Linked DNA regions of Homo sapiens: region 2 is linked to region 1. Evidence: promoter capture Hi-C in 16 types of primary human blood cells and fetal thymus (Javierre and others, 2016). All regions are on one chromosome and are shown on one strand. The core of a region is centred on a gene start or on the middle of the fragment in contact, and the rest is flanking DNA. Distances in the headings are between cores, read along the strand shown. Region 1 has its middle 72 kb from the start of EGFL6. Region 2 holds the start of RAB9A (RAB9A, member RAS oncogene family).

The links. The method cuts DNA at HindIII sites, captures the fragments that hold promoters and counts their contacts. A CHiCAGO score of 5 or more calls a contact.
Region 2: the fragment with the promoter of RAB9A here is called in contact with a fragment that was not itself captured in region 1 in 1 of 17 cell types (non-activated CD4 T cells); the score reaches 6.7 in non-activated CD4 T cells.

Annotation. Positions count from the first base shown.
Region 1 is chrX:13,496,244-13,499,335 of GRCh38, reverse strand. No RefSeq gene overlaps it. Among named protein-coding and RNA genes, the nearest start is that of EGFL6, 72 kb to the left of the region's middle. The HindIII fragment of the contact is 4,972 bases long and covers 1-3,092 here.
Region 2 is chrX:13,687,554-13,690,645 of GRCh38, reverse strand. RAB9A (RAB9A, member RAS oncogene family) reads right to left here and starts at 1,518. Exons shown (of 3, transcript NM_004251.5): 1 at 1,358-1,518. RefSeq lists silencers at 1,209-1,368, 1,379-1,618 and an enhancer at 1,769-1,818. The HindIII fragment of the contact is 3,610 bases long and covers 1-2,369 here.

The DNA of each region.
Region 1 (3,092 bases), core at 197-2,696:
TGTCAAGTATAACCAAGATAATATCTGTCTCTCAAGCAAAAGTCAGGCAGGTTTACCTACCGTCCATTGTCAAAGATTTGGGTTTCCTAAACTCAGGATTCCTCAGTTGTGATGTAAACCCACTGCATACACGGCATCTACCTGGGCCACTCTGTGTAACTCCCATGGGACTCGGGAAGTGAGAAGGATCTGATGTGAATATGAAAACTCATGCTGCTTGTAGTTCTGAGAATAATGAAGTCTCTTTTGTCTCTGACCCAAGAGTCTCATATCTTTTGCCAGAATCCATGAAACTGTGGCAGACTAACTCATGAGACTGCTAGTAGGATCAAATCTCAGATCCTTCACAGTTCTTGACTCTGACAATGCCATAGTTTCATCCATTTCCCTGACTTGCAGTTTGATATACTGGTTTGAAGTTGAGATGTGGTTTCTTTTGGAGGAGCTATGTAACAGCATGCTGGAATGAATGTAAGAGACACTAATGTCTATATTCAAGGCTCAATCATTATCAATGGTTGAAAGTGAGATGTTATGGCAGAAGTGGAAGTTAAGGCTATGAGAGTTCAGATTTAATTCATATATCTTTTGAAGAAGCATTGTAGAGTGGTTGCTAAACTTTGAATTGAGATAGACCTGGGATCAAGATCCAATTCAATAACAGCAGTGTGAGCAAGTCCTTAATCTCTGCATGTGTCAGTTTCCTGACCTGTGAAATGGGAAGACAATATAATTTACCTCTGTGGTTTTGGGGAAACATTTAACACAGGGGTGGGAAATAAATTTCTGTAAAGAACCAGGTAGTAAATATTTCAGGCTTTTCAGGGCCCCACAGTCTCTGTGGCAACTACTCCCCTCTGCCAACACAGTATGAAAGCAGCCATAAGCAATACAGTAGTGAATGGGTTTGGCTGTGTTCCAATAAAACTTTATTTACAAAAACAGGCAGTATGCCAGATTTGGCCCTTGGGCCATAGTTTGCCAGCCTGTGACATAGCAACTTACTTGGCTCACTGCCGGTATCTAATAAAGGGGTTCTTCTATGTCACCCACTATAGTTTGTATTTTTTTTTTAAATATAGATTCAGGGAACGTGCAAGTTTGTTACATGGATATATTATGTAATGGTGGGTTTTGGGCTTCTAATGTAGCCATCACCCAAATAGTGAACATAGTATCCAATAGGTAATTTATCAACTCTCATCCTCTTCCACTTCCCCCTTATGGAGCTCCCAGTGTCTATCATTCATATTTCCATTTTTAAGTCCGTGTGCACCCATTGTTTAGCTCCCACTTATAAGCGAGAGCATGTGATATTTGATTTTCTGTTTCTAAGTTATTTCAGTTAGGATAATGGCTTCCAGCTCCATGCATGTTGCTGCAAAAGACATCATTTCATTGTTTTTTTATGGCTACATAGTATGCCATGGTGTCTATGTACCATATTTTCTTTATCCAATCATGTGCTGATGGATACTTAGGTTGATTCCATAACTTTGCTATTATGAATAGTGCTGCAATAAATATACAAGTGCAAGTGTCTTCTTAATATAATGATTTACTTTGGGCAGATACCCAGTAGTGGAATTGCTGGGTGGAACGGCAGTTCTATTTCTCTCTTCACATCATATAAATCTTTCACCATTTATTATGTTGTCTGTACTTGTTACTTCACTTAATCCTTGATGAGGTAGCTAATGTCTCCTTTTTATAGACAAGGAAACTGAGGCTCAGGGAAGAGAAACAATTTGCTAAATTCCCATGACTGGGTAGTCAAGGTCAATTCAAACTCTGGCCTTCTGACTTTAAGCCATTATTTTTACCAACATCCTGTGTTACCTTTGGACAAATATCTCCATTCCTAAGAGTTTTAGAGGCAAACCTCAATTTTGTTTGGGGACAAATTCTTGTTTGTGGGTGTATGTACATGTATAAAATAAGGTTTGAATTATACAAACCAATGATCACCAAAATCCTTAATGAGATTCCAGCTACGGATTCATAGGCATTTTTAGTTGTCCTATCCACACCACCAAATCTGATATATTGCAGAGCATTTCCATCAAGAAAGAGGGGGAAGTACGCTCTACAAGAATAGTGATGAGTAGGGAAAAGAAGGTTTCCCTGTCTACTACTTGGGTTGGGAGTTTATTACTTGGAAGAATCCAAAGTGAAGTATAAACCCAGGGTCCATCTGAAGAAAAAAGTTAACATTTTCTTATGGATTCAAATATACAAGGCCCTGGCCATGGCAAAATTCTGGAAGGATGATATTGCCTGGATAATTACTATATGTCAAGCAAATTATAAGGTGAACACCAGTTAATTATCATTAGAATAAAGGTACCATCAAAGCGAAAAAAAAAGACAAGAAAAAATCCCACCAACATCTTGAGTGATTATCATTTAGATATGGAATCATAGATTATGTACATTTTTTACACTTTTTCATGCTTTCCAAATTTTCTACATGGAGAATGGGTTGACTTTACAAACAGACAAAACCAAGAAATGTCACAAAACTTATTCATGTTGAATTTGTAATAGCAAGGGAAATGATTCTGTCATGATGTTAAGGATACAAAGTGACACATAGAAATATATTTTCTCTTTGTGTAAAAATAAATCTTGGCAAAAACAAAAAAGACTAGAAGAATATTAACAGAGGTAGTATAGGGATGTAAGTCTTTTTTTTCTCTTTTTTTTATTCTTTTGTAGTTTCCAGATTTTCTATAAGGAATATATGTTATGTTTAAAACTTTTTAAAATAAATAATTTAAAAAACAAAGCTGATGCTATTAAAAAACAAAAACACACACAAAAAGCTGATTACAATTTTGGCCTCAATTGCTTCGCTTCTGCTCTGTTCATGGAGCAACTTTTGCTTCAGCATGATCCCCAGTGCTCCAGACCAATCCTGCATACAGGCAGGAATTGTCTCAGTGAGTCCCATAGTATGTTAGAGGTGGTGTGTGCGCATGCACGTGTGTGTGTGTATGCATGCACGTGTGTGTGTATGCGCGCATGCACACACGTGTGATGTTAGGGAGAAGGGAGAGTTTCTCTTTGTTGTAAAATCAGGGTTCCTATTT
Region 2 (3,092 bases), core at 269-2,768, 190 kb before region 1:
TGTAGTCCAGACAGAAGAAATGGTTGAGATAGAAACAAAAAGAGATGAGAGAGGTTGGAAAAGAAGTGATAGCACTAAGGTATTATTTCCCTTATCTCTAAAACCCGGCTTGGAGTCAAAGCCAATGATGTTCTACTTAGTGTTTGCCTATCTACTCTAACATTCCAAATAATAAACGAAAAAATATGCCCAGATCCCAAAAGTCTCCAGAAGAGAAACTTTGTAGTATAAACGAGGAATTTACCACAGCAGACACAAAAATACTAAAAGCACCAGACTGCCACAGCATTGTCTTAGATTTAGGAATCCAAATAACTACTAAAGTTCTAGAGAAGCAATCATGATAACTTCATAATCTTCTAAAGGAAAAACTAAAGGCTGGCTTCTTAAAAGTTCCTAACTGAATCGTTCCAGGTTTCTTTATCTCTAGTTTTGCTACACTGGACAGCTTCTGAGAGTACAGGCAATGTAGGGATTTTCCATTACAATGGTGCCAGAGACCGAAGGACAAACACATTTTTAAAGAAGCAATCAAATTCTGCCCATTGATTTTTATCAGGACGCTAAAATCCTATGAAAAGATTGTGGTCACGTGCCGATTTGGAAACTAGCAGAAAAGTTATTCCTCAAAAGAACTGTAGTCACGAGATGTGTCATCCCTTACCAAAAAAAAAAAAAAGCAATACGTCCACCAACTATTTATTAAGTTCAGCACTTAAATTTCTCATTTTGCCTTTTTACTTACCAAGTTGGAAGAAAAAAGGGAACGCGATTGTGAAACGTTAGCCAGCGTCTGAATCAGATAATGCCCCCAAAACGCCTGCAGCCTCTAAGATTGGCTTTACTTTCCGAATTCCTCACCCGAGTGGTCGTAAGACATCGAGCAAACACGTTCTGCTAGGTGGAACTTCAGAGGTCGCCAAAATCAAGTCATGGGAGCGCCTTTGTTTTCCCTACATTAATCATTCGGGTGTAGGATTTGGTTTGGGGTCTGTGGATGTGTGTCCCGGAGTGGTTGGGGGAAAGGCTGGCGTGTACGTGTGTTCCCAGGTGACCGGGTGTATTTCTCCGTGTGTATGTGCACGGGTGTCCGGGCTTTTGTATCTCCCTTTCTCCAGTGTTTGTGTGTGTTTCTGTGAGTCCCTCTCCCCAAGGGTGTGGGGACCGTCTTTCCTCCTGCGTCAGAGAGGAGGCAGGGAGACAACCAGCCGTCCTCTCTCCCGGGGCGGCCTTGTGACCCGCGCTAGCCCCGCGCGCACCGCACCCCGCCCCAGCTGCCCGAGGCCCGAGCCGCCCCCTCAGACCCCGACACCCGCGCACTCCGCCCGGTCCCGAAGGAGTCCCGAGTCCCGCTCACCTCGCGGCCACACGAAAGACGACCCGGGAGCTCTGGGCCGGCCCGTCTGGGCGCAATGAGGACAGAGAGAGGGTCGGGGACCTGCACAGCAGGAGGCAGCCGCGGTAGCGCAGCCAGGCTCCCGCTCCAGCTGCTCCCGTCCAGCGCGGAGGGAACAACATGGCGACGGGCCGGGGCGGGGCCAGGGAAAAAGCGGGGCGGGGCCTGGAAGGCGGGGTCCCGCGGCCGAGACCCTGGGGGACGGGCGCGGGGAAGGTGGAGCCGAGGCAGGCGGGGCCTGGATCGTGCTTTTCCTTCGGGTCGATTGCTCCTGAAGTGTCCTCCCGTCTGCGTTCGGGCGACAGCGAGTACGAAATAACTGTCATTTTGAAAAGTTTACGTAAAGTGGAAATAAACAGACCTCATGAGCACAGTCACAGGATGTCGTGATTACAATGATAAAAACGACTAGTCAAACGGACAAAGAACAAACAGGTGGATGAAAAATGAAAACAGTTGTGATACTGTGGAAAAACAAGAACTTTTTAAATGAAGCTATTAAAACTTTCCTTTAATCTTGTTAAAATACTGCCTCTGTCATCTCTGAATAGAAAGCGATGGTGCAAAAGGTGGTATTGGAGAAGCTCTCCTTAAGTCCTTGCTTTATGTATGAAGTTGAGTGCATGGATCCTATGATACAGAACCCTACAGGCGGGAGGGACTCATAGGGACATCTCAATACGTTTTGTACGGTGATTTAGTTTGTTTATCAGAAAACCAAATACTGCGTGTTCTCACTCATAAGTAGAAGCTAAATGATGAGAACTCATGGTCACATAGAGAGGAACAAGAGACACCAGGGCCCACTTGAGGGTTGAGGGTGTGAGGAGGAAAAGGAGCAGAAAAAAACTAGGTATCAAGTACTATGCTTATTACCTGGGTAACTAAATAATCCGTACACCAAGCCCTTGCAACAGGCAGTTTACCTACATGACAAACCTACACATGTACCCCTAAACCTAAAATAAAAGCTTTTTAAAAAAGATTTAGTCTGTTTATTTTCCAAGACAAAGATCTCACTTTTATGATGCTGGGGCTCACAACAAGTTAAATAATCTCCAGCTTTTTGGGGAGTCATTTTCAGGTAATGACTTTTCATTCAGCACTAGAAAGGTCATGTTTGAGAAAGTTCCTCACAAATTAAAAAGGCAATTTTAGAATGCTTCTGAAAACGACACATAAGCTTAAATAATTGTTTTCTCATAAACAGAAATCTATTTCTTATCTGCAGGTCATTTCCCCAAGGAAATATGTATAAACGTTTATAAAATACAAATCTGTTAAATTGGGGGGAAGAAGAAATATACACTATCTTGTTTTAAAACACATATTAAAAGTACACAGTAAAACATTATATATGAACACTAGAGTTAATTTTCCAATAGAAAAAAAAGTCATGTACATTGGGTCAAATTGCAACAAGCAATCCACAGGGTAATTAAAGAAATGCCACCTGAAAATCGTATATCCTAACCATAGTCAAGGAGTGATCAAATAGGAGTTTATCTGTGCAACTGCTAATGCCAACTAGCTATTAACAAGTGATCTCATAAAATTATTGTATTTTGAGTTAAAATAAACCTTGACAAACCCAACAGCTTTCATAAAAATGTTCTAAGAAGGTTCCATAAGTGACTCTCAGGCTGTTCCAAAATGTAAGAAGGCATTCAAACATATTTGAGTGTAGCTTATAGTA